Linked DNA regions of Homo sapiens: regions 2, 3, 4 and 5 are each linked to region 1. The links are contacts of gene promoters, found by promoter capture Hi-C in blood cells and fetal thymus (Javierre and others, 2016). All regions are on one chromosome and are shown on one strand. Each heading gives the region's core, a stretch centred on a gene start or on the middle of the fragment in contact. The rest is flanking DNA. Distances are from core to core; before and after follow the strand shown. Region 1 holds the start of ELL2 (elongation factor for RNA polymerase II 2). Region 2 overlaps LOC101929710 (a long non-coding RNA gene). Region 3 overlaps LOC101929710 (a long non-coding RNA gene). Region 4 overlaps RHOBTB3 (Rho related BTB domain containing 3). Region 5 overlaps LOC101929710 (a long non-coding RNA gene).

Region 1 (5,280 bases), core at 960-3,459:
TCTATTTCTTGTATCTCTCCCAGCCATTCTTGAGATTTTCTCTCGAGATTTCACTGTATGTAGGACGGTACCTTTCTCCCTGTGCATGCACTCCTCCCTGACGCCCCCTCACCCCACCACACAAAGTCTGTGAGTCCTTTTCACCATATGCTTCTCTGGTTAGTAACACAAGTGTCCTAGCACGTACATTCATGTGTCCACCCAATTCTGTGAGTACCTTCCTAACAATACACTCACCTCTGAGCCTCCACTGCTGTTTACAAATACCCTATCATGTGAGTTCATTTTCTATCCAAAGCGTGCACAACTAATGCCTTCCTCTGTGTGCACACTTATGGGGTGGGGGGGCTCTCTGAATACACTCCCAGTAAACCAGGGTTCACACCTCTCCTGCCGCTCTGCCTCAGACTCTGCCTTCGCTCTATGTATTTAAAGTGCCTGGCACTAGTGGGAGCTCAACAGATGTCAATTCTTTTCCCCACTTTTAGCTGAATAACTATGTGAATCTGTGTCTCGGTGTCCTTCTGCCCCTCTGTCTGTTGTACGAGACCGGTTGGAGTGTGTTCCTCAGTACCGAACGGGCTATTTGTAAGATGCCCCGTGGGTTCTATCTCCCTTCCGACTCTCTCCTCTCCTGTAAAACGTTACAGGTTCCCCCATATGGCATATCCCTCCCTCACGCGATGTATCCACTCCGGTCTCCCACAGTACTGCATGTCCATAAACTGTTTCCCCATGCACCCTGGTTACCGCGTCCCTTCTCGGTGCTTCCCTGTCTCTCCCATTTTTTTTCCAACATGAAAGCGTCTGGATTTGTAGTCCAATTACAGTGTATGTGCGCCTATCTGAGCCTCTCTCTGTACTGGAGGGGTGTGTGTGTATATGTGTGTGTGTGTGTCCATGGGCTTCTCTCGAAAACGAGGGGTGAGAGGCCCGAGTCTCTGCCCGGGATGCATTGTATCCTCCCCACACCTTCTGGCTCTGGCTCGTTCCCCGTTTACACTTCCCAGAGTCAGCCCAAGACGCCGGGAGCTTTTTCGGGTACGTTGAGCGTCCGTGAACCTCTCTCTCCAGAACCCGATGTCTTGCTCCCGGGGAGCGCTAAGTGTGCGTGAGTCCTCAGGTCTCTCCCCAGGGCACTGTGTTGGTTTGTGTCCGTCCTGGACGCGGCGCGTCTCCAGTAACGCGATGCGCCGGTGTCCCGGAGTCCCTGGGAATGCAGGTGTGTCCCCTCCCCCCCCGTACGCGAAGCGCCAGTGTCCCCGCCGTTCCAGTGTGCGCCGCCCCCTTACACGGACTGCCTAAGTCCCTATCTCTATGAGTACACCGTGTGCCCCTCACCATGCGCCCGAGTCCCCATCCCTTCGAGCACACAGTGTGTCCCCTGATACGTGGAGCGCCTGTGTCCCCAAGTCCCTGGGAATACAAGGTCCCACCCCCACACGCGGAGCGCCTGTGTCCTGTCTCTGAGGATCCACCGTGCCTATGTAACTGGAAAACGCGGGCAGCTGGTGCCCGCGAGTCGTCCCTGGTTCCTTGCCCATACGCTGCTCGCTACCCTCCTTCCCCGCCGAGGGTAGCGTGGTCATCTCACTTCTCTTATCGGGGCCTCTCTCCCTCCTTGGGACCCAACAAGCCAGGAAATCCTCGGGGGCCGTCGGAAAGTCCCGCAGCGGCAGCGCAGCCGACCCAGGGCTGCGGCTGCCTCGGCCCCGCCGCCAGGGGCCGCCCGACTGCCCGCTTCCCCAACGCCCAGGCTAGCCCGGGACCGCGGCGTCAGCCACCCTGCCCGGCCCTGCCCTGCCTGGCCGCTGCGGGCGCTGACGGTAGCAGCTGCCAGCCACGGCTCCGCCGGCCCCGCACCCGGGCGCGGCCAGGCCGTGAGGGGTGCGCTCTGCCTCTCTGAGCCCAGCCTGCCGGCCGGCCCGCTCACCTTGTGGCTCTGGTAAGTCTCGAGCGCCCGGATCGCCGTCTCGGTGAGCTTCACATGCAGTACGGTGATGTTGTCCTGCCCCAGCCGTCCGCACGACAGCCCATAGCGCTGCTCCTCCCGCAGGCCCCCTGTCCCCCCCGCCGCCATCTTAAACTCCCCGGGGTGCCGCCGCCGCCGCCGCTCCGGCTCTAGCCTCCACTGCGGCCGCGGCTGCTTGGGCTTCTGCAGCCGCCGCCACTGCTAGGGCCATCCCGCTGCTGACGTACTGTCATATACTGCGCGGAGCCAGACCTCGGACTGCCACCGCCGCCACCCGCCCCACCCTCCGGCCCCGCGCCCCGCCCCGGGCTCGTCTCATTGGTCTTGTTCCCTTCAGAACCGCCCTCATCGGCCGCCCTCCACTCTCACGGGGGCGGGCCCAAAGTCACTAGAGTTTTGCTCCTGGGACGGGACGTCCGAGAGGTAAGAGGCTGACGTCTAGGTGACGCGCCAACTTAATCATGTCTGACGTCACGTCTGGTCGTCTTGGCTAGCCGGCCGAGATTGGCCAGGCTGGCTTGGGGACTCCCCTGCTAATTGGAAGTCCAGGTTGCCTGGTCTGGTTACCTGGAGTTGGAGCCCCGCCCCTGTGGGGGATAGTAGTGAAAAGTCAGAATTGGGGAATCTCGCCCTACGCGGGTGGTCCTTGGAGAGGAGGATCTCCACCTCCACTATGTAAGGGGATGGCCGTGACCAAATAAGGACTTTGTTCCCCGACGGCTGCGGAAGCTGTGGAACTTGGTGCGTGCGTGTGGGGGAGGACGCAGCAGGAGGACTCGCTAGAGAGCTGCTCCTCAAAACTCCTAGTACTGTAGTTGAGCAAACGGCATTGGGAGGAAACTGCTCACTCTAAACTTGAAGTTATCGGGTGCCACACGCAGAGCTTATAAAAACAAAAACAAAAACAAAAACCCTTGAAATTAGTGAGTCGACTCTTAGATGTAGGAGTTGTGTTAGATCTTGTGGAGCATCTTAAGGACAAAATCACGCGGGAGGTTAAATGCCTTTCGTATGGTGGGCATGGTATAATAGAGAATTGAGCTTCGAGGTCTTTCCTACGCCATGCCCTGTTGTGATTCTCTGGGATCACAACTGGTGGGGATGATATCTCCTTAAAAAGGACTCTAGAAGAAGAGTAAAACTGGCATTGATCTAAATTAAAAGAAACCTCGACAATTCTCATTCTCTAATTCAGTTTGAGTATTGTCCTTTTTATTTGATAGGGCTGTGTGAAAACCTAGCTAGGGTTTAAAGGTAAGAGGCTGTCGAGGTTAAGCGAAGGAGATGGGGGCGTGAGGGGCGTGCAAAGGCCTGGCATACTTTCCATTCCATCCACAGGATGCTTCCTGTGTAGGCGTGGCTAAAAGAGGGAGCCTAATCTGGAGTCCCTTTCAGATTGTGTGTGGATAGACTGACAGATGGGTTCCTGTCAGAGGATGGATTAATTGGTTGATCAGAAACACCAGATAAAACAAACCATTGAAAGCTTTCAAACTGTTGAAAGGCAGTTTAAAAAAGTTCTTTTAATAAAAAAACTGAGACGCTTGTTTTTACCCTCAGCTTATAAAACCATGTTCTGTTCTACTGGGATTCCCCGGGAAAGTTTATAGATATTTAATCAGTATTTTTCATTATTTTAAATGGATTAGGGCCATGATTCCATGTCCTCCCCTCCCAATAAATGCCTTCCCCACCGTACGGGTACACTCCTTTTTGATTCAGACCTTCAAACATAGTAGGTGTATAATGTGAATTACAGAATGAATTGGATTAAGTGGAAACACCTGTATTAAGTGTTACTCCATCACAGGAAAACAGTTTGTAAATTGACTTAATTTCAATCCACTAAGATTGGCTAGCTGTTAAGACGTGATTAACGCTTGCTAATTTCATTTACTTTAGTGATACAGTGTTATCTTAAATTCATGTAGTAGAGATATTAAGGTAATCATCAAATTGGATTAAAAAGTTTACTCTTAGAAGGGAAATAGAGGCTTTACTACCTAGTTTTCTCCGCTTTCCAAAAGTAGAAACCTTATTCAAATAGTTCATCTCTAAGCGGACTATAATCTAAAAATAATTCTGTACTTGAACTTTTCTTTTCTCTCTCTCTTTTTTTTTTTTTTTTTTTGATAGTAAAGGACTGAGCACATAGCTAAAGCCTTAATTATTTGGGAGGTGAGGGGGAAGGGAGGTTTGACCGGAACAAGTAAAACCTGTATCCCACTGCTTTTCCGGTGAATGTGGGTAAATCCCCACCCACATGATATCCTAACTTGGCCTACTCTTACTCAGAATTTCTGATGACATCCAAGCGGGTGGGGGAGGAGTAAGGATGGTTTTCGTTGTAGTTTTCAAATATCTGACCTGTAGCTTCTTACTAGTAATTGACTTTTTTTAAAAATTATAATAGGAAAATTTTTCTCATGCCCTATTTTAGTGGGTAACAAATCTTTCACGGATTAATATATTATTGTAGTGAGTTAATGGTTGTTTGTATTTTTCCCCTTTTGAGCTTTTCAACTGTGGAAGGAGGAAATGATCAAGTACAAAGTAATATGGTAATCTAGCAGTGTCTTTTCATTGATGTCTCACAGGCATAGTACACATTACGCCTGCCTGAATCAGATGGTCAAGTTATGATGCTGGTTAGGATAATTTATTTTGAGGAGGCTGATGAAAGGTGCTTTTTGGGAAGGTTGCCATTTTATACATATTTTCTGTATCTTTATCTGGTTTAAATAATTAAATAATCATTGAATACCAGTTAAGTATAACATGCGGTAGAGGATTTAAAAATTAAACTGTAAAGTCTCTAGAGGAATTTTCTGTTTCAGTGTGGCAAGTGAACCAGTATAGTCAAAGCAAAGCAATTAGAAAATTAGTAAATGCTAATTTGGACGGTGTTGGTGATAAGCTCAAAAATTCAAAGAAAGGAGAAGTCTGAAGAGGTTTAATGGAGGTGATAGAACTTGAACAGCTCTTGAGGGTTGAGTAGATTCTAGATAAGTTGGAGGTGGTATAGATGGAGACAGCCCAACTAAAAATGATCTTCATGATGATTCCAGGTGGACACATTAGTTTTATGAAGGAGGAACTGAGACCCCCATTTATTTAAAAGCAACCTGCCTAACATAACCAGGAGAGGCAGGGTCGGAATCAGCTCTTTAAATGTCCTTCCAGTCCTTATATACACTGAGTAGCTATGGATTAGATTTAATAACTGAGAAGAAATCTGTCATATAAGACAGTTCAGTGCAGGAAAAAGGCTAAAAGGAATTTGATGCAGGGCCTGCTCCATCTCTCAT
Region 2 (5,177 bases), core at 1,575-4,074, 190 kb after region 1:
ACCATCTGGAACATGTGGCTCTCAGTGTTGCTGAGGCAGGGGAAGAAAAGGGAAGAGAGTGAAGAATGAAGCACACTGGCTCTTAACTGCCTCAGTCAAGAAGTGACACGGTTACTTTGTATCAAAGTCCATTGGTCAGAACTAGTCATATGACCTCAATCTTAAGTGCAAAGGAAGCTGGGAAATGTAGGAGCGCACATGGATAGTCAGCAAGCCCTACCTGTCTCTACCACAGTACCAGATAACTTTAGTGCCCCATGTTCTGTGATTATGCACAGCTGGAAGTGGAAAGAGTTTCATGAGCCCTCAATTGTAGGTACACTTATAATTATTCCAACATTGTCATTATTACTTTTTAAATATTTATTATCATCTGTGAATAATTTATGGTTTTATTCGTAGTTTTCTATGTGGCATTAAACAGAATGCCTAATGACATCACTGTTTCGAAAGAAGATCTGTTGTAAAAACTACTTTTAACCTTGTTACAAATAATTTGGGGCCGGGCGCGGTGGCTCACGCCTGTAATCCCAGCACTTTGGGAGGCCGAGGCGGGCGGATCACGAGGTCAGGAGATCCAGACCATCCTGGCTGACAGGGTGAAACCCCGTCTCTACTAAAAATACAAAAATTAGCTGGTCTTGGTGGCGGGCGCCTGTAGTCCCAGCTACTCAGGAGGCTGAGGCAGGAGAATGGCGTGAACCTGGGAGGCGGAGCTTGCAGTGAGCCGAGATCGCACCACTGCACTCCAGCCTGGGCGACAGAGCGAGACTCCGTCTCAAAAACAAAACAAAACAAAACAAAACAAAACAAAAACCCCAAAAAAACAAAAGAACAAATAATTTGGTAAGGCTTTGTTACATCATTCTAGCTGTTCTATTGAAGACTGATTAAAGAAGCCACCACCTCTTTTTCTTTCTCATTTTGCCAACCACACAATTCTTTAGGTAAGTGTCAAAGTGATTACTTATGCTGCCGTAGTCTAGATAGCCTGTGCAGATCAGCAACAGGACATTATCAGCACTTTAAAACCATCTTATGGTCATTTTTGAAAATAAAAAAAGAAATTAATTTTTATCCCATCCATCCACATGAATCCCACTGTTAGCTCAGTATTAGAAAATGTGGTACAGAATATTGTCAGTGAGAAACAAAACAGAAGTTTGGTTCAATTTCATCATCGGACTTATTGCTATTGCCTATCTTTTGTCTGGAATTCTTTTCTTACGGTGACTTCACAAAATTGACACTGTGAGAGGGACTATTGGTCACACAGGGACTCTTTGGTCATGAGAAAATAGTTCCTAGTTTTCTTCTGCTGATGGGAAGATTTGTTTGGCAGATAAAACCTCAGGAACATGCTATGTACCCAGTCTCAGCAGGTTTGAGGCAAATTTCCATTTTAATTTTGTCTCTCAAATTCTGTTGGCTTAATCAACACCTCTGATATGTTGAAACAATATGATAATGATTTTTTTTGTGGAAATATGCTTGATTGGTAGCAGTCACCTGTCTGTTCGGCACACTAAAATACTGTCTGTCATGATTATTAGAAAGCGTCTGAATTATGTGTTTTGATGCCTTCATTATATGGCTTTAGTTTATAATTAGAATCTTCATAAGCTTTTTCACCACAATTATTCGGTAGTTTCTAGGCAGGCAGTTTCTTTAAATGAATAAGTACAGATCAGCATTACTCTCCCCACTGAACAGATGAAGAAACTGAGACAATTTCATGCCTAGCCCAACACGTTCTGGTGAGTCAGAGTCAGCGTTAGGATAAAACTTCAGTTTATGTGCTTAGGCCAACACATCTTGTGTAACTCTGAAGTTAAATTTCTGGAATCAGGGACACTCTTTTGGTTTAATATATGCTAGAGCAATAGAATGATGTGTAGTTATAAAAACTGGAAACTATTAAATCAAGTTATCTGATCCCTACCTGAGCTAGGTGAAGAAATGCCTAACTATACACGGAAGACTGTATAACAGTGGAAAGAGCAAGAGGCTAGAGTTGGAAGAAGCAGACTCCAGTGAGAAGAGCTGTGTGACCTTGGTCACGTCACTTAGCATCTTAAGAGCCTAGTGTCTTTACTTGTAAAGTGTGGGGCATCTGAAGACACATTTTCTAAAGTCTAAATTTCTATTGCAGAATTTTGAAACTGTTATATTTGTGTTTGGAAGAATCCTTCTTAGGTGAATCTTAATTCAATCAAAATTTCTATTCTCTTAAATATTTATTTTTAAGTGGAAATTATTACAAGAGACAGTTTCCTTGGCTTTGACTTGGCGTATGGAGTCTTCTCTCTGTCATCAGTTCTGCTGAAGAGCACAGAAGGGAATTGGGGAATGAGACTTGTCTGTGAGGAAGCTGTGTGTACACTGCAGGCACAAACTTGTAAGGCAAGACTCCCTCCATAACTCCTTCCCATTCCTCCTGGGGCTGGAGGCCGAACTCTAAAACACCTCCTCCTACCCCACAGTGCCTTATTGATGGATGGAAGAAGTTTTCACATGGGGAGGATATTTGCTAGGCTATTTTTCTAGCAGCTCTTGTTATCCATCACCATCCCTATGCACTTGGTCTGTTTGTCATGGAATGAGTCTGGGGGAATTTGCTTTTTCAGCTTCTTTCTTCCTTCCCATGCTTTTGCCAAGTGAGAAGAACATGGCATCAGCCTCATTGAAATGCAGTGGTGCCTCCCTATTTTTCCAAGGCTGCCCCTGTGAAAAAGGAGCTTGATGAGACTCATTAAGGGCAAATCATGGGGGTTAGGGTTACTTTGAAGGGTTTTCTCTGCAGAGGTCCAGATTTATTTCTGAATATCACTGACCCAGAGGCCAGTTTCACATCCTGCAAAAAAATGCTCTAAGAGAATGTGTCAGCAGAACTGGCATTGCATGTCTAGACAAAGAATTGACATTAGCATCATCAGCTAGCATCCAATCTGTTAATTCTTGTGTAAGCATTCGCTGTCTGAGCCTCAGGCATTTTTGGACTTGAAACAAAAACTTTAGCTCTAAGATTTAAACTTAGGTCTTTCAGGAGCTTCTTTCAGGGGAAGGAATAACAAGGTAACTTATTTCAAGATCAGATATTTTATTGATAAACATAAAAGTTCCCTCATCTTTTTTTTTCCTTCTTTAGTAAAATGGTGACTGTGTCATCACCATCTTCATCCTATTGTATATTTGTTATCTCAAAAAATATTTGTTAAATACCCACTGGGAGTTTATGCAGGGCATTCTGCTGATACATTGGTGAATAAAACAGCCAAGGTCCCTACCTCCTGGAGTTTATAGCTTAATGGGGGAGACTGCCCACAAACAAGTGTAACAGGATCTCTCTGTCTCAGTTTTGGCTGAGGCACCAGAGAACAAAGCAGTAGGTGTCAAGTCCCTTGGCTTTCTAAACTGAGGTGCTAGACTACCTCTGCAGGACTGGTGGAAAAGGTACTGGTTCTGCCAGTCAGAACCCATCATCTACCTCCAGGGCTCCAGGGTTGAGGAGAAGGCTTAGCGTTCTTGGAGGTTTCAGTGTTGGTAGAGGGGATTTCTTGAGGAGAGTTGTCACTGTGCTGTAAGGTTCCCCTCACTGCAGGGAGGAGCTGTGTATCCCCCACTCTCAAAACTAGTAGGGAGGAGGCTTCCAGGGAACCACTCAGAGAGAACGCTGTCCTGTGTTTCCTGAATCTGGGGGACTTGGGGACTGACATATGAGGCATCTCAAGGCAGAGGCAGGGGCAGTGGAGAGAAGAGATGCTGTATTGAGAATGGCCAGCCCTTCCATAGTTGACTGGGTAAAAACTGACTCTGAGGAAGGAGCAGACTGGGTCATCTTGGCAGCAACTTAAGAGGGAGAAACTACGGAGTGAGGTGACTCTGGAAAGAGACAGGTCTCTAGAATGGAGTGGCAGAGTGGGATGGTGGGGAAGATTCTTAAGGGACCAACCCGAAAGACTATTGCCTGGCAAAGCAGCTGTGGGGGGCAGGGCCTCTGAAAACCCCATAAAGAGCAGGCCTGGGAAGCTTGGTTATCTGCCAGATGCAGAGGTAAAAACCCCAGATTACAGTGACATCTGACAAGACAGACCTATATTCCCCTCTTCTCCATCTGCTGCCCCAAACCTGAAGAGCCACAATCCACAACTACAAAGATGGGAGGAGGTGGAGTGAGGAGAAAGCTGACAAGGCTGTCTTCCTGATGAGCTTCCTTGCCTGGATCAGAAGCAGATCTGAGCTGTGAGAGGGGAGGAATCATTGGTTAACTTAGGTTTAGAGTTCTGATATTAAAATCACCCTAGAAAACAGACTATTTGTTTAAGACTTGGAAGTGACTGTGATAGCTATGGGACTGGTGGAGATTTTTCATCTAGAGACAGGAAAGAACATATGAAGACAGCAGATTCAAAGAGGCAGAGGAAGGAGAGGATCAATTGCTTTCTGTCTGCACATACTGATTCCAGTTTCTTTACTATCCTAACTTGATTATGCTAGTAAATAAATAAAATGTTGAATTATAAAACCGTGACACCAGGTGAGGTAGTGTGTGCCTGTAGTCCTAGCTTTTCAAGAGGTTGAGGCATGAGGATCACTTGAGTCCAGGAGTTCAAGTCCAGCCTGGGCAACATAGTGAGGCCCCATCTCTAAAAAATTAATAAGCAAATTAAAAAGAATCATAAAACTGCTCTTAAAGGATAGTGCAGAGGGTGGTAGTGGAGGAGACCTATTTAGACAGGGCAGCAAGGATTACCTCTCAAGAAACCATATGTAATGAATGAGCAGGAGTCAGCTGTGCTAAGTTCTTGGGGAGAGTTAGGGATGGGAGTTCCTCTAGGGTCCAGGCAGTGGGAACAGTATGTATAAGGTTTATGTGAACAGCATCCAATAAACATTTGAGTGGTTTTAACCAAGAATATTTTCATTCTTTGTGCAGGGCACTGAGTTAAAGTCTGTCTTATAAACAGGATAAATGCCTCCTTCACTGAAAACTGAGGCTTAATTGATCAATCTTGGAAAAAACCCCTTGGATAGAAGGTAATGTCTAAAGGCTATAAAGAGCAAAGAGACTCTTGCCCTCTGTTCTAAGCTCCCAGTAACCCCAGAGAACATCCTTCTTTGATGAGTATTGTCATGACCAGCAGCCTCTCCTATGACACTAGTTCCCTTTTGTGGAG
Region 3 (4,694 bases), core at 1,049-3,548, 170 kb after region 1:
TTTTAAGTGATGAAAGAAAATTGTAGAGTAATATGTACAGTGTGATAGTATTTTTAAAACCCTTTCTATGTGCCTCTAAGTTTAAATATTTTTGGAAGCCTGCACAACTGGCTGTTAACATCAGTTATCACAGGAGAATGGAATGCAGCTGTAAATTTAATATCTTGTTATTATACACACACACACACACACACACACATACATACTAAAATAAAATAAAATAAAACCTCAAGCATGATTGCCGTATGTTACATTTAGCTGTGGGATGTTCAGGAAAAATAAATGGCAGAGCTGCAGCAATTGACTTACATGATTGCTGCCTAGCAGCATTTCTGTAACACAGTAAAATGAGAAGATATTCTCCTTGGGATCACCGTAACCTACTTTTTACATTAAGAGAAAAAGCACCAAGGTATTTATTTTTATCAGCGACCTACATGAGAGCAATGAGCCCAGGAAGTCTGTATTTGCTCTCATATAGGTGAGACTGCTAACTTCCTAGAAGTTGGGAAGAGTTCACACCAACTTTTGATAATTCAGAAAAATAGCATTTTAGAAAATAAAATGAAGTCCCACAAACATAAGTATCAAATCATACACAGGGAGGACCCAAAACAAGAAATTCGATTCAGGTGATGTTGGCAGCCATGGGACATGTCTGAAACCAGTTCAATCAGCAAGAGTAGCAGGGTACATTGAAAAGACACAAACCCAACTGGATAAGTCTAGAAAGCAAAAGCCAGAAAATGGAAAATGTAGTAGAACATTTCAAAACTGTTCAATTTCTTCTACACACAACATAGTCAAAGCTTTATTCAGCCACACAAAGGAAACATAGTATCTGAAGCTACTCAATCCAATCTTAAATGTATGGCTATACTTATAATCAAACACTGTTTAACAGAAGCAGTGTCAATGAGTATGTTTTGACAGAAGGGAGGGAGGGAAAGAGGGAAGCAATTAAAAGTAAAGTTGCAAAAGATAATGTTGAAAGCCTGCACTAGGGAAATAGCCATTTTTTCTTTTAAAAAATTTTATTGATACATAGCAATGGCATGTATTTATGGGGTATATGTGATATTTTGATACATTTGTACAATGCATAATGATCAAATTAGGGTAATTGAGGTATCTATCACCTCAAATATTTATTTCTTTGTGTTGAGAATATTTCAAATCTTTTCTTCTAGGTATTTTTAAAAATACAATAAATTACTGATAACTATAGTCACCTTACTGTGCTATCAAACACTCCAGCTTATTCCTTCTATCTAACTGTACTTTTGTACCCACTAAACAACCTCTCTTCATTCTCGCCCCCCATTTTTCCCAACCTCTAATAACCACAATTCTACTCTCTACCTCTATGAGATCTGTTTTGGCTCCCACATATGAGTGACAATGTGTGATAAGGAATGGCTCATCTTTAATTTGAAAGACTATGGATATAGAAAGGCAGACCTTCTTGAGTCTTCATGGACTGAGAGAACAGACAGAAGGAAAATTATATAAATATTTATAGCCAACCTGGTTAACACAGTCTTGCAAATTGAAGGAAAATATGTCCCAGCTGTAGTAAACCTATAGAATGAGAGTTTTATGAGCAATCTTGAAGCATATCCACTGGACTTTATAGTAAGTTCTCTAGACATATGAATATAAGACAAGATGCTAAAAGGAACAGATACAAAGGAATCCACATGCCAGATAAGGATATCAGTGTATTTCAGATTAGAGCTTCAGAAATATTAAGATGACAGGCAAGAGTCAGGCCTCAGAAGTGGCAAAATTACAGTGCTTTCTTTTGTAACCAAGTCTGTCACATGAAGGGTACATCTTAACTCCAAAGATGTCAGGAAGAAACAGAAAGTGTTTTAAAAGTCTTACTTACACTCAAGGCATTTGCTGAAGCAAAAGAATAAAGTAGAAAAGAATAATATGCTGTGACCAGACAAAACAAAAGTTAACATTAAGAGATTAGCAAATGTATCCACTCTGGCTTAAAGACCACTTTTGGTTCTGGTCATAGACCCCTCAAAACGCTTTGAGAAAAAAAAAAAACACACACACACATGAGTTTTCCTAGAAATGTTAAGCCTCCCTCAATGAGGTAATTTTGAGAGAAAAAGGATGTGGGGACAAGGCAGAATAATGGAAGGAGTGCTGGAACAAAAGTGAGAAACCTTAGGTTCTAGTCTTGGCTCTACCCCTGATTCACTGTGACACCCTGAGGTTTTCTGTAACATTCTTTACGACATGAGAGGGGTGAAGTATCCCATTCCAATACTTTAAGTGGTATAACTGAAATGTGTTTCATTTTGCTTTAAATGGAAATTTACTTGTGCTTATGGTTCTGAGTTTGAGCCAGTTTCCCATATTTTCCTTCTGAATAAGGCTATAATAAAATCTTCATTACAAATTTTTGTAATATTTTAAATTCTTACCTGGAACTGCAATGGTCTAGGCAAGTGTTTATAAACTTGTTTTACAATGCACTTTGATCAACAGGCTGGTTACACAAAGACTGATGTACAAAATAGAAAAGGGGGGCTGCATTGGTGAAGACGAGAAGCCAGGGTTTGGAGAACAGGAACAAGGGCTACGAAAGGTCAAGTTCTGCTCACTCAACTTCCCCACTGTGTTTTTGGAGAGGCCCCTGTGGGCTGCTACTGAAGCCCTCAGACTCCTAAGATTAACAGTGAAAGTCAAGGTTCTGTGAGAGGTTTTACCCCAAACAAGTGATGTGGGCACACATATTTGGCAACAAACGTTGAGGAACACAACTCTGTTTAAACCACCGTAAAACCTCCGTTTCTACAGTGAGGGAACTAACACCATTTGGCCTTTAGTTGGTAACAATTAATCACAAATGCCTGTAAAGGACTGAAAAGGCCGCTACAGTGCTCTGTTACAGTTTTCCAGGTTACCCCAAATGTGCTCATGTGAATTTTTTGTTTACAGAACTATTAAAATGAAAATACAAACATAAAACCAAAACCGTGTGACAACTGCAGACCCACAAGAATATGCCTTTCACCCCATAGAGTTTCTCTAACCTCTTTTTGATTAAAACTGATTTCAGAAAGGGCAATGCAATCTCCATTTTCTTTCTCAGAAGTCTTTAAGATATATATTACATCTGTGAAAAGTCGCTTTACTGAATAACTGGCACAGACTTCAATGATGAATACATCAAGAATCTCAGCTTCAGCCCAATCTGTGCCTCTACTGGGATTCAGCTGCTCCTGGGCCTTTAGGGCGACCCAAGGGATTGCTCCCACCCACAGCCCACCTGAGGCCTGTTTGCATGAGTCAATTTGTAGGAAGTCTGGTGTGGAAGCAAGAAAGGGCTACACAAAAGTCAAGATATGGGGTAGCAAGCCCTGTGGATTTCCCTAAGCCATAGGAAGAGAGAGGTGGCAGGCCAGTGGTACCTAAAGGCACAGGAGAACATCTAAATAAAGAAGTCTCTCACCCAGTCAATATTTATGGAGTGCTTACTATACATTCCATGTATTGTTCCAGGCAGTGGCAATACAGCAGTGAAAGAGCCACGGTTTTCTGCCTCTAGTAGGAAGAATAGCACATAAGTAAGTTGTAAATCTTAACAAGTGCTATGAAGGAAATAAAGAAAGCCTGTGGTAAGTGGGGACAACTTTGAATAAAATATAAAGGGAAGACCTCCACAAGGAGGGACATGGGAGCTGACAAGGAAAGATGAGAAAATGGAGTGAGAAGGAGAAAGACACTTCCAGGAAATAGCGAGAACACAAGTCCTGTGGCAGGAGAAAGCTTGGCACTTGCAGGGACCAGAAGGCCGGCAGCATAGTGGGAGCCTATTGAGAGTGGGTGGTACAGCAGGACAGGCCAGGTTCCCTCCCACACCATAAGGGTTTGCATTCAATCCTCAAAGCTATGGAAACCCACGGGATGACTTTAAACAAATAATTTATTTTACTTACTGCTTTAAAATATCACTCTGCTGTGAAAGGATGGAGTATACAAAGCAAGAGTGTGTAAAGGGAAAATAGAATTATCTTAAAGTCAGCCAGGAAGAAAATGATGGTGTCTGGGACCAGGGGTGGCAGTGAGAATGAGACAAGAAAATAGTTTCAAAGTTTATTTTGGAAATAGAATTGCTGATGGGTTGGTTATGGGAGGTAATGGAAAAGGCAAAATCAAGAATGACTCCTAGGTTTTAGCTTAAGTAATTGGATGTATGGTGGTGGTTTAGGTAAGGGGTAAGGGAGAAGTTAGCACAATCTTAGGAGAATAATATGAGATGTTGACTAATATTAACCAAACATTAGCTGGAGATTTCTAACTCTTAAGATCTAGGTAGGACAACCTTGAGATCTCAGATCTATAGCCTGGGAAAGAGTAGATTCCAAGATTTCTCTTTTTTCCCAAGGGCTTAGGATCTCACCATTGTCTTGTGTTTCTGCCTTCTGTGTCCTCACCTCCAACCTCCATTCATCCCTCTCAGCCTTTTCCCTATTTTCTTTTTCTTTATTTTAAAAATGTGTATATGAGGCCAGGCATAGTGGCTCATGCCTGTAATCCCAGCACTTTGGGAGGCTGAGGTGGGCAGATCATGAGGTCAAGAGATAGAGACCATCCTGGCCAACCAACATGGTGAAACCCCATCTCTACTAAAAATACAAAAATTACCTGAGCGTAGTGGCACACACCTG
Region 4 (5,431 bases), core at 1,604-4,103, 180 kb before region 1:
TGGAATCTATTTTCATTTAAGATTTATTAGTTGACATCACGGAATGTACTAAGCAATTAGAGGTGGTGCTGGAACAACAATGAATTTTCATTCAGTTCAAGTGGAAGTGCAGTGATTGGGTGCCTTTTATGGGTCTCCGACGCCGGCACAAGTTCACATGTCCCAGCCAGCACCTACAGCATGGGGATCACTGTAGGCAACTAGAAATGGAGGTGTCTTGTGGTACCCATGGCTACCGTAATTCTAGAGATCGGGGCAGATTGTTACTTGGAGCGCTGTCTCTTCCACAAGAAGAGGAGGGTTGCGCAACTGCTTTGATGTCTGTGACTTCTGATTGGGGCACTTTTAAGGACTTTCAATATTCTGAGACTTTTTTGGTCTTCCTTCTGCCCAGAGGATGTGGGATTTGTAAAGGCCTCCTTCTGACTTCTGCTAAAGTCAGAAACTCCTCAAACTGACTTCTCTGAAAACTTTTCTTGAGATGTTTAGAATACCCAGTGGACTGTAGGATTCATTTCCAAATTCACTGACCAAGGACTATCTTTGACCAGGAACCAAACATCTGTGACAGCTCTAGGTTGGAACAGATCCAGCAGGGTTCTTCTAGCTGGAGGCACTTGAAGAAATAGCAAAATTTTTTCTACAGGCCTGGAGCCTTGCTTGGGATGCTGGCAGGGAAGCCCTCTGTGAGTAGTCTTCAGCCTTTGGCCACCAGATGGCTCCCACCACAAGCACAACTAGATTCGGCCCCGTGGAGCTCAGTTCAGGAGCCTGAGACCTTGATTAGAGAACCTGGTCAGGCACCCTAATAAACATAAAAAGCAAACACACATTTCAAGCCAGACCTCTCTTCAGATTCACTGCTTTAATTTTTAGAATGGAAAGGTTTCTTACACTGGGTATTGAAATAAGTTTTAAACAAGTCATGAGCCCTCTAGTGAAAGATTTTAGAAGTTCAAAAAGAAGCAAATGTATTTGTGTTGATTAAATTAATTCTGGGCTTGCAGCTTTCTGTAGAGTATTTTGGAGCCAGTTGCAGTTGTTTCTGTCAGTGTTAAAGACTGACTTACGGCCAGGTGCCGTAGCTCATGCCTGTAATCTGAGCACTTTGGAAGGCTGAGGTGAGCAGATCACCTGAAGTCAGTTCAAAAACAGCCTGACCAACATGGTGAAACCCCGTCTCTACTAAAAATACAAAAATTAGCTGGGCATGGTGACGTGTGCCTGTAATCCCAGCTACACGGGAGGCAGAGGCAGGAGAATCGCTTGAACCTGTGAGGCAGAGGTTGCAGTGAGCCAAGATGGCGCCACCACACTCAAGCTTGGGTGACCGAGTGAGACTCCGTCTCAAAAAAAGACTTAGTATTTTTGCCTAATAAAAATGAAAGCATTTGTTCTTTTTGGAAATAAAGCTTATTGTTTATTATTTCATTGTTGGCAAATCTGTATATTAAATTTACAAATTGACCAGATTTGGAGTAATAGGAAAATTTGATTTTCAGTCATCCTCTCACTCAAGTAATTGAAGCTGCTAATATTAAGTTTTACCTTGCTAATTAGAAAATATTACAGAGGAAAGCAGTAATAATGATAGGATTTTTAAAAATTGGCAAAAGTGTGTTAGGGAAAAATGAGTCAAAATGAATAATCAAAAAGTTAAGCCAGATACTGGAATCTGTGCATTGGGAAGATCACAGAAGACAGGTAATGTTATTATGTTAAATATTCACCATACACAGTGTTCTTGGTTCCATAGCTACAAAAGAATGTAAGAATGTAAGGAGGGATAAGAACGAGAATTACATGAAAAACCAGATTTCTAGGGAAGTATTGAAAAAACCCCCAGCCAAATTGGGTGGTTGCCAGGGGCTGGGGAAAGGGGGAAACAGGGAGTTAGTGTTTATTGGGTACAGAGTTTCAGTTTGGGAAGAAGAAACATGTTCTGGAGATGGTGGTGGTGATGACTGCACAGCAGTGTGAATGTACTTCATGCCAATGAATCATATACTTAAAAGTGGTTAAAATGGGCCGGATGTGGCGGCTCATGCCTGTAATCCCAGCACTTTGGAAGGCCGAGGCAGGTGGATCACAAGGTCAGGAGATCGAGACCATCCTGGCTAACACGGTGAAACCCCGTCTTTACAAAAAATACAAAAAAAATTAGCCGGGCGTGGTGGTGGGCGCCTGTGCTCCCAGCTCCTCAGGAGGCTGAGGCAGGAGAATGGCGTGAACCCAGGAGGAGGAGCTTGCAGTGAGCCAAGATCGCACCACTGCATTCCAGCCTGGACGACAGAGTGAGACTCCATCTCAAAAAAAAAAAAAAAAAAAAAAAAAGGTTAAAATGGTAAATTTCATGTTATGTTTATTTTATCATAATAAAAACAAAACAACAAACCAACCAACCAACCTGAAGACTAATGTCAAGAAAAAAAAATGGCAAGGATCTAGTTTAGCTAACGGAAAGATTTACCAGATAGTCCTGGAATTAATTTTTAAGGGCAATTATAGAATCACCTTTTCTGAAGAATTAAAAAAAAATAGATTCACTTCTGAGTATGAAGGCTTGGATTCTTTTTATTTTTACTTTTTTATTTTATTTATTTATTTTTATTTTATTTTATTTTTATTTTTATTTTTTTGAGATGGAGTATTGCTCTATTGCCCAGGCTGCAGTGCAGTGGCATGATCTCCGCTCACTGCAACCTTCGCCTCCCAGGTTTTAGTGATTTTCCTGCCTCAGCCTCCCCAGTAGCTGGGACTACAGGCGCCCGCCACCACACCTGGCTAATTTTTTTTTATTTTTAGTAGAGATGAGGTTTCACCATGTCCGCCAGGATGGACTTGATTTCTTGACCTCGTGATCCGCCCACCTCGGCCTCCCCAAGTGCTGGGATTACAGGTGTGAGCCACTGCGCCGGCCCTTCTTTTTAAAATGGAATAATAGGCCGGGTGTGATGGCTCACATCTGTTATCCCAGCACTTTGGGAGGCCAAAGTAGGAGGATCATTTGAGCTCAGGAGTTCAAGACCAGCCTGGGCAACATAGTGAGACCTGTCTCTACAAAAAAAAAAAAAAAAAAAAAAAAGAAGAAGAAGAAAGGAAAGAAAAAAAAGATAAAATGGAATAAAAGTGCAGAATGCTGACTCCCTCGAGGCTTTTCCTAACCATTCTATTCTATGGTGGATGCTACGGTCAGCATGTTTTTTTAATTGTTGTTTTTTGTTGGTGGGGGGTGTTTAGATCATTAAAGAAATGGTTTCATCATCCACTTTCTCTCATGTCCCTTTTCTCATCAGCTGGCATATTCCAGGCCATGTGTCTCCTGATCTGTGCCGAGATGTACCAAGTGTCCAGACTGCAGCACATCTGTGAGCTGTTCATCATTACCCAGCTGCAGAGCATGCCAAGCAGGGAACTGGCATCCATGAACCTTGATATAGTTGACCTGCTTAAAAAGGCCAAGGTAATTGACTCTGTGTATCTGATAGCCTAGTTTTTTATAAAATATTTTTCAAATTATACTATTTTAAAATTTATCATTTTTTAACATACGTTAATACTAGTCTTAGTTTGGAAGTTTGGCTAATGAGGCTAAAGTGCCTTCACAACAGTTTATCTGGCTAGATAATTTTGAAGCGTTAGGGTTTGTGTGCAGTCCCTTTTATAAGGAGGCAAAATGTCCAGATACGGAATTTTTTTAACTAAATAGTGGCCCTTAGTAGAGTCATTTGAATGTGGTGCTATACTATGTCACATAGGCATTGTAGGAAATAGAATTTATGTTGAATTTCCCCAAACAATCACATCTTCAGGTTCCTAAAAGGGAAATGACAGAATTGGTCCATATATACTGATAGCGATGGTTAAGCTAAACTAATTTACTTCTTCATTTTTTCATCCATATAATGAACATGTTTTGAAGTTTCAGTTGTATGTAGGAGATATTGGTGTGCCTCATTTATCCTTGCAGAATGCCTTTTGTTTTCATGTCTCACCTTATTAGCAATCACTGCCGTATGTGTACATGCTTCTTCTGGGCCTCTTGTAAGCTCGGAGTCTTTTGTTTTCAATAATTATATCATTACTGATTTTAGAGAACGGGGGTGGGGGAGTTACATAATTAAGTTAATTTTAAGTAACTGCAGTTACAGAGGCCCTAAATTATGAATCAGAGCCAGGTCTGTAAATAAACTAGGACTACTGTGTTGAAATCTACTTCCCAAACCCCCAGATGTGCTCACAGTCAAAAACCTGCCAAATCCTTATTCCCACTTTCTTTCATTCCTGGAAGCAGAAAGCTTATTCAGATGGGCCATCCTACCGTTGGCCATTCTGCCATTCCATCCACTGCCCGAGACAGTTTCAGCACTTGTGGTAGTTATGGCACACTCTTGTGTACTCAACTTGTGGTAAGCCGAGCCCTCTAGGTTTTTTTCACAGGAATATATTTGTTCAATCACTACAGAGTGTCAGTACTTCTTGAACTATTATCTGGCATCCAACATGTCTATACCTATCAACTTTGACGTCCAGGGTTACAAAAGCATGACAACTTTTATCTCCATCCACATTGCTAAAATGGAGCCACATGATGGGGCAAATTCCAGATCTGTGACAGCTGAATGCTTGCCTCCAAGCTGAAACGAATTCATTCATCAACACTTCTGTTTATAGAAGGGAATTTATTTGAAGCATCTAGGTCTTCTCCTACTATCTCCTTAACTATTTTGGACTTCATTTCTCTCATAATCAAGTCTTACGATCACATGTATTTAATTAGGGCTAAAAACAAATTTAAAAATTGAGTAGGGCCAGGCGTGGTGGCTTACGCCTGGAATCCCAGCACTTTGGGAGGCCGAGGCTGGCGGATCACGAGGTCAGGAGATCGAGACCATCCTGGCTAACACAGTGAAGCCCAGTCTCTACTAAAAATACAAAAAAAAATTAGCTGGGTATAGTGGCGGGTGCCTGTAGTCCCAGCTACTTGGGAGGCTGAGGCAGGAGAATGGCGTGAACCCTGGAGGCGGAGCTTGCAGTGAGCCGAGATCGTGCCACTGCACTCCAGCCTGGGTGACAGAGTGAGACTCCGTCTCAAAAAAAAAAAAAAATTGAGTAACACTGATCTCTTTTTGTAAAACGTTTACATTCATCTCATGATAAATAGCTCCCCTCTAAATTTAGTTTACAATTTTTAAAATTCTTTCTAGTAGTTTCACAATCTCAGTTCATTTTTGATGTATCATTTTCATACTATTCTAACAAGTTGTTCATACTTTTTAAAAAATTGGACACAAGTTTCTTTTTCCTTATCTTTTAGTATCTTCTTAAATTGTTTATGTATAAGAGAACTTCCCGTGTGGTCACATTGATTTCTTTAGGTGCCTCCCCTCACTGCCCCCCTACACTTGGTTCCTCATCAGAATCATTTTTG
Region 5 (4,787 bases), core at 2,087-4,586, 210 kb after region 1:
CTTCTTTTGTGGTGGAATGTCATCAGTTAAGGCAGGAACAGGCCATTTTCACTTCTTTTGTGATTCTTCAGTTACTTCAGCCATCTGGATGTATACGTGCAGGTCACAGGGGATATGATGGCTTAGCTTGGGTTCAGAAGCCTGACAGTCCAGACCATTGGGATTATTGAATATAACATTCTAGATTATTCAGTAGTGATTTCAAATATACATGGTATATGGCAATATGCAATTGTAATAATATGCAGTTTGTCTAAAGTGTGAATAACTTTCCGCAAAAGAAGGCCAGCTGCTACTTCTAGTGTTGGAGGTATGTGGAAAGGTTCCAGGAAGTGGCCTTTGTACATGTCTTAAATATTTCAGAATAAATTAAAAGACAGAGGGAGAACAATAATTCTTAGATATATGAGTCAGTTTTCTGAGTTGCAAACAGATCCCTCTCTAGTTAGTTTAAACAGAAAATAAATTTATTGTAGGATATCATGTAGTTTATAGATCCTCTAGGAGAGCCAGAACATTGAGCTTAGAGGCCATGCTTCCAGGAACAACGCTTAAATGACACTACTGATTGCTCTAGCAAAAGCCTCACTCCCACCATTTCTGGACACAGATACCATAACTTCCACTGCTGAGTCTGGTCAATGGATGCCAAGATTTCTACCATGGCTGCCCCCAAATTTTGGGCACATATGCCACTATGCTCATGAGAAAATAAATGTTAGGTGGTTCCTGGTAATGAAGCCACAGTATTCTCTTACAAGTCCATGTTGCATATGGGTATTTCTTATTGTTAGATCTACATCCTACCTCTGGCATAGATACCGACTGGCTGGGAAGGTGAATTTCCAACTTCTGCTTTGTGGCGGCTTGACTACAAAGGCTGAGACTCCCCAAACATGGGAAAGATGTTCAAAATATTCTGGGTGACCACAAAAAGCAACTAAGATCTACTGCACTGGAACTAGAAAAAGTGAGATGTTAAATTGGATATAATGTTTCATGTAAAGGAGCAGGAACTCTATGCCATCATATTATTTGCAGTTGTGAGACTTTGCAAGAGTCCGGGGTATAGTCCTCATAACTATCAAATATTTTTGTACTCTGACATATAATGTAAACAATTTGCAAAAAGTACACAAAGAACTGTCATCAGAATAATGGTACTTACAAGGAGCTTAATTGAAACTTGAAAGTTTAACATTTGGAGCAAAATACATAATAGAGTAACCCAATTGGAATACCCTCATGTAGTAATACCAGAAATTCTGAAAAATGTAAATAAACAGATAGATGTTATGACAGTATCTAAAGGATTGGTAACTATTTGGTACATGTGGTAGTAATTTACATTATATCGAGGTTTTCTTATAACTTCCTCTTTTGAACATAAAACATTCTGTTTGATGTTTGGGGTATTATTTTTATCATTATATTAGCTTAGGAATCTGAATCTCAGATAAATGAACTTTTTTTTTTCTTTTTTTTTTGTGAGACGGAGTCTCTGTCGCCCAGGCTGGAATGCAGTGGCGCCATCTCGGCTCACTGCAAGCTCCGCCTCACGGGTTCACACCATTCTCCTGCCTCAGCCTCCCGACTAGGTGGGACTAGGTGGCGCCCGCCACCACGCCCGGCTAATTTTTTTGTATTTTTAGTAGACACGGGGTTTTCCCGTGTTAGCCAGGATGGTCTCGATCACCTGACCGTGTGATCCTCCCGCCTTAGACTTCCGAAGTGCTGGGATTACAGGTGTGAGCCACCGCGCCCGGCCTGAACTTATTTTTTAAGTCATCTACTTGTTAAGTGACACATGAGTCTTGAACCCAGAGTTTTCACTTTTAATTTCATGAAGATAAAGAATCTGAGGAAGGTCCTCCTATCAAGCACAACATGGAGGAAGCTGTGCAAAGAGATGTTGAGATTCCCAGGAGCCTCTTTGGGCTGCCCAAACTTGCCAGTTTCCTTCTTTCTGGTTGTCTGGTCCATTTCCATTAAGGGAATTCCAGTTCTGATTCTTCTTGGGCCACACTTCTAGTTCAAGTTACTGCTATGAAGGATATTCTCCAATTTTCACAATTAGTCCATGAAACAATCATTAGACAGATATTTGTTGAGTAGCTGTGAACAAGGTCCTGCGCTGGGCGCTGCAATCATTCTTCCACTCCTCCGCAGACAGGAGGAGTTCGCCCTCTTGCTTATGTGGGGAAGGAAAGTCCAGTCAGAATCCTCTGTATGACAAGTCTACCACTAGTTGGATGATAAAGGTTTAATGTGCAGACACAGATTACAATTTTAGTTTTATAGGTTTCCCTCCTTGGTTAGAATTAGTAGTTTAATATTGGCACTGTTTTTTTGTTCTACTTTGTTTTAAGAATTTTTAGAAATGATACAGTTGTATACTCTCTCTTTCTAGCTTCTGGCTCATGATTTGTAATCTTGTTAATGTCTTTTCTAACCAATCAAAATAAGTAAAAATGTGTTTTTATAGTAGTGTTGCCATAGAATTAATGAGGCCTAACCATGTACAATCTCTGTGTGATTGGTCCCCAAAATAGTATTTGTGTGGTATTCTAACATTTCAGCAAATAATATATTTAAAGGTTTTCTTTTCAATCTTTAATGAAATCAAAAGCTTTCCTCCTCAATCTTTTTGTATTCATTTCAGATTTATCTAGGCAAACTGATATTAATAATTTTTATCAAGGTAATAGGTATACAATACTTTTTACTAGATTTTCTAATATATATGAAAACATATTTAACTTCAGATTTTTTAAACTAATCCAGAAGAAAAGCAACTGAAGTTTTTAAATTTAGAAGACATAGATTTTTCTTATTTTTATTATTGGTATTCTAATAGTATACTAAGAAAATGTAATATAAGCTACTTATAAAATAGTACATGCAATTAAATGAAGTCAGTGTACTACACTATAATAGTTTGTCATTGGACAGAACTCATCAGTTGGCCGGTTAGTACATGTGAATTTTGCATGAAGTACAAGGGACTTTCAGTTCTGGGCAACCAGTGCCAGTGAAAGTACCCTACTGGCCAAGATGGAAATTACTTTGATTTTGAGGTTCCTTGTTTCACATGCATTAAAAAAAATTATCGAGTATCTACTGAATGCCAAGGACTCATTTAGGCTCTGGAGGTATAAAGAACTAAATAAGACAAACAAGATCCCTGCTGTTATAGAAACTATTATTTAGTATGGAGAATTGAAAATAAACTAGTAAACACATAAATGATTGAGAGCATCTCAAAGAGATAGACATGTAATTTAGATGGTAAACAGGGCAATGGGCTATAAATTAATTGGGGTAACTTTACACAACGTTGGTCAGTGATGTCCTTTCTAAAAGCGTGACGTTGTTGCTGTGACCTGAATGACATGAAGCAACTATCTATGGAACAATGTGTGTTAGTGTTTCACATGGATGCCATGCATGTTTTTGTTTTAGTGGTTAGACTAGAGTGATGCTTCCACTCAGTGAGATAGAGCAGTATGTTTAAATATGTGTTAGTTTGCTCAAACTTTTGTGATGCTTTTCTAATACATCCTGGTTATTTTTCTTAAATATTCCTATTCCAGCACTAAGAGTACAGAGTTAATTCCTTTATGAGGTCCTGTTTGAAGTGCAACTGCTGATGTATAATTTCACAAACATCATTCCGCCTCTAGTAATGTTATTTCCTTGCAGCAATAATAGTCCAAGTGGGTAAGTGCTACCATAGCGGAAATTACAGGGAGCTAAGGGCTCGTCTAGCTCTATTTTGGAGGCTAGGTAAGGCTTTCTGAAATAAGAGGTTTCTAAACTGTGATCTGAAGGACAAAGAGAATTTTCCCAGGCCCAGGGAATAGGAGGACAAGACAGAAAAGTCTTCTACACAGAGGAACATGTGCAAAGGCCTTCGGAGAGAGAGAGAATGTGGTACATTTGGGGAACTGCCAATAATTTGCATTTGGCTGAAGTGTATAGTTCAAGAGATAAAGTGATAAAAGAGAAGGCAGTCTAGAGAAAGGAGCAGGAGCTGATTACAGATAAGCTTTGCTGAAGATTTTAGGCTGAGGAAAAGGACAACTTTTATTCATTAATTCAGCAAAACTTTATGAAGTGCCTTATGTGCTATGCACTGTTTTAGGCACTGGGAATACATCAGTGAACAGACAGAAGTCCCCACCTTCATTCTGTCTACATTCTAGGGGGCAAGGTAGATAGCAAACTAAGAAATTCTTAGGTAAGATGCCAAGTTTTTGAGGATTTTTGAGTTTGATGCAATATGGAAGCAATTTTTCAACTGGTAACACTTGAGAAGTCACAGGTTAACACCAAAGAATATGTATATTTTTGACAATGCCACTTGAGATTTTGGCATACTTTCACTTTTCTGAGTGAAACTAAACTAAAAGTTTGTCAGTCACAAGGACTGGCTTTTCTTTCTTCCTGAGCCCCTTCTGATAAGGACCTTTTCATAACCCTGTATCGCATGAGTTCTCAATGGTGTTAATTAAATTAGTAGAGCAGTAAATTGGTAGTGAGGCTGCTACTGCTTTCTTAAATAATTTGGAGCTCAATGGAATTACATTGTTTTGCAGAGATTCTTTAATAATGTGCCTTTAAGCTTAGGACTGCATCATCTAAATTTCTCTGTCATAGAACTTTTTGGAAATTGTACCAAACTGGGAGTATATGCTATTATAATACTTAAGAATTCAAATAACTTTTCATGTCTTAATGCATTTGCCCTAAAGTAAGAGTTGGTCACACATGTGAGTTGAATCTAA

What was found. Contacts are between HindIII fragments. The CHiCAGO score rates a contact against its expected background, and 5 or more counts as called.
Region 2: a contact is called between a fragment that was not itself captured here and the fragment with the promoter of ELL2 in region 1, in 3 of 17 cell types (M1 macrophages, M0 macrophages and M2 macrophages). The highest score is 10.0, in M1 macrophages.
Region 3: a fragment that was not itself captured here is called in contact with the fragment with the promoter of ELL2 in region 1 in 2 of 17 cell types (M1 macrophages and M2 macrophages); the score reaches 6.7 in M1 macrophages.
Region 4: a fragment that was not itself captured here is called in contact with the fragment with the promoter of ELL2 in region 1 in 1 of 17 cell types (neutrophils); the score reaches 5.0 in neutrophils.
Region 5: a fragment that was not itself captured here is called in contact with the fragment with the promoter of ELL2 in region 1 in 5 of 17 cell types (M1 macrophages, erythroblasts, M0 macrophages and 2 more); the score reaches 11.9 in M1 macrophages.

The regions. Positions count from the first base shown.
Region 1 is chr5:95,959,642-95,964,921 of GRCh38, forward strand. ELL2 (elongation factor for RNA polymerase II 2) reads right to left here and starts at 2,210. Exons shown (of 12, transcript NM_012081.6): 1 at 1,934-2,210. The coding sequence starts at 2,080. It overlaps LOC101929710 (a long non-coding RNA gene), which reads left to right and starts at 2,360. Exons shown (of 5, transcript NR_130776.1): 1 at 2,360-2,395. It also overlaps a transcript of CAST not described here. RefSeq lists silencers at 1,624-2,033, 2,104-2,343, 2,299-2,766 and an enhancer at 2,062-2,819. The HindIII fragment of the contact is 3,633 bases long and covers 1-3,456 here.
Region 2 is chr5:96,146,823-96,151,999 of GRCh38, forward strand. All of the region lies in intron 1 of LOC101929710 (a long non-coding RNA gene), which reads left to right. It also overlaps a transcript of CAST not described here. Among named protein-coding and RNA genes, the nearest start is that of MIR583, 70 kb to the left of the region's middle. The HindIII fragment of the contact is 2,406 bases long and covers 1,622-4,027 here.
Region 3 is chr5:96,131,245-96,135,938 of GRCh38, forward strand. The region is part of intron 1 of LOC101929710 (a long non-coding RNA gene); the gene reads left to right. It also overlaps a transcript of CAST not described here. Among named protein-coding and RNA genes, the nearest start is that of MIR583, 54 kb to the left of the region's middle. The HindIII fragment of the contact is 2,983 bases long and covers 808-3,790 here.
Region 4 is chr5:95,780,501-95,785,931 of GRCh38, forward strand. RHOBTB3 (Rho related BTB domain containing 3) reads left to right here. Exons shown (of 12, transcript NM_014899.4): 10 at 3,297-3,463. Among named protein-coding and RNA genes, the nearest start is that of GLRX, 40 kb to the right of the region's middle. RefSeq lists an enhancer at 745-794. The HindIII fragment of the contact is 2,886 bases long and covers 1,411-4,296 here.
Region 5 is chr5:96,172,274-96,177,060 of GRCh38, forward strand. All of the region lies in intron 1 of LOC101929710 (a long non-coding RNA gene), which reads left to right. It also overlaps a transcript of CAST not described here. Among named protein-coding and RNA genes, the nearest start is that of MIR583, 96 kb to the left of the region's middle. The HindIII fragment of the contact is 1,419 bases long and covers 2,628-4,046 here.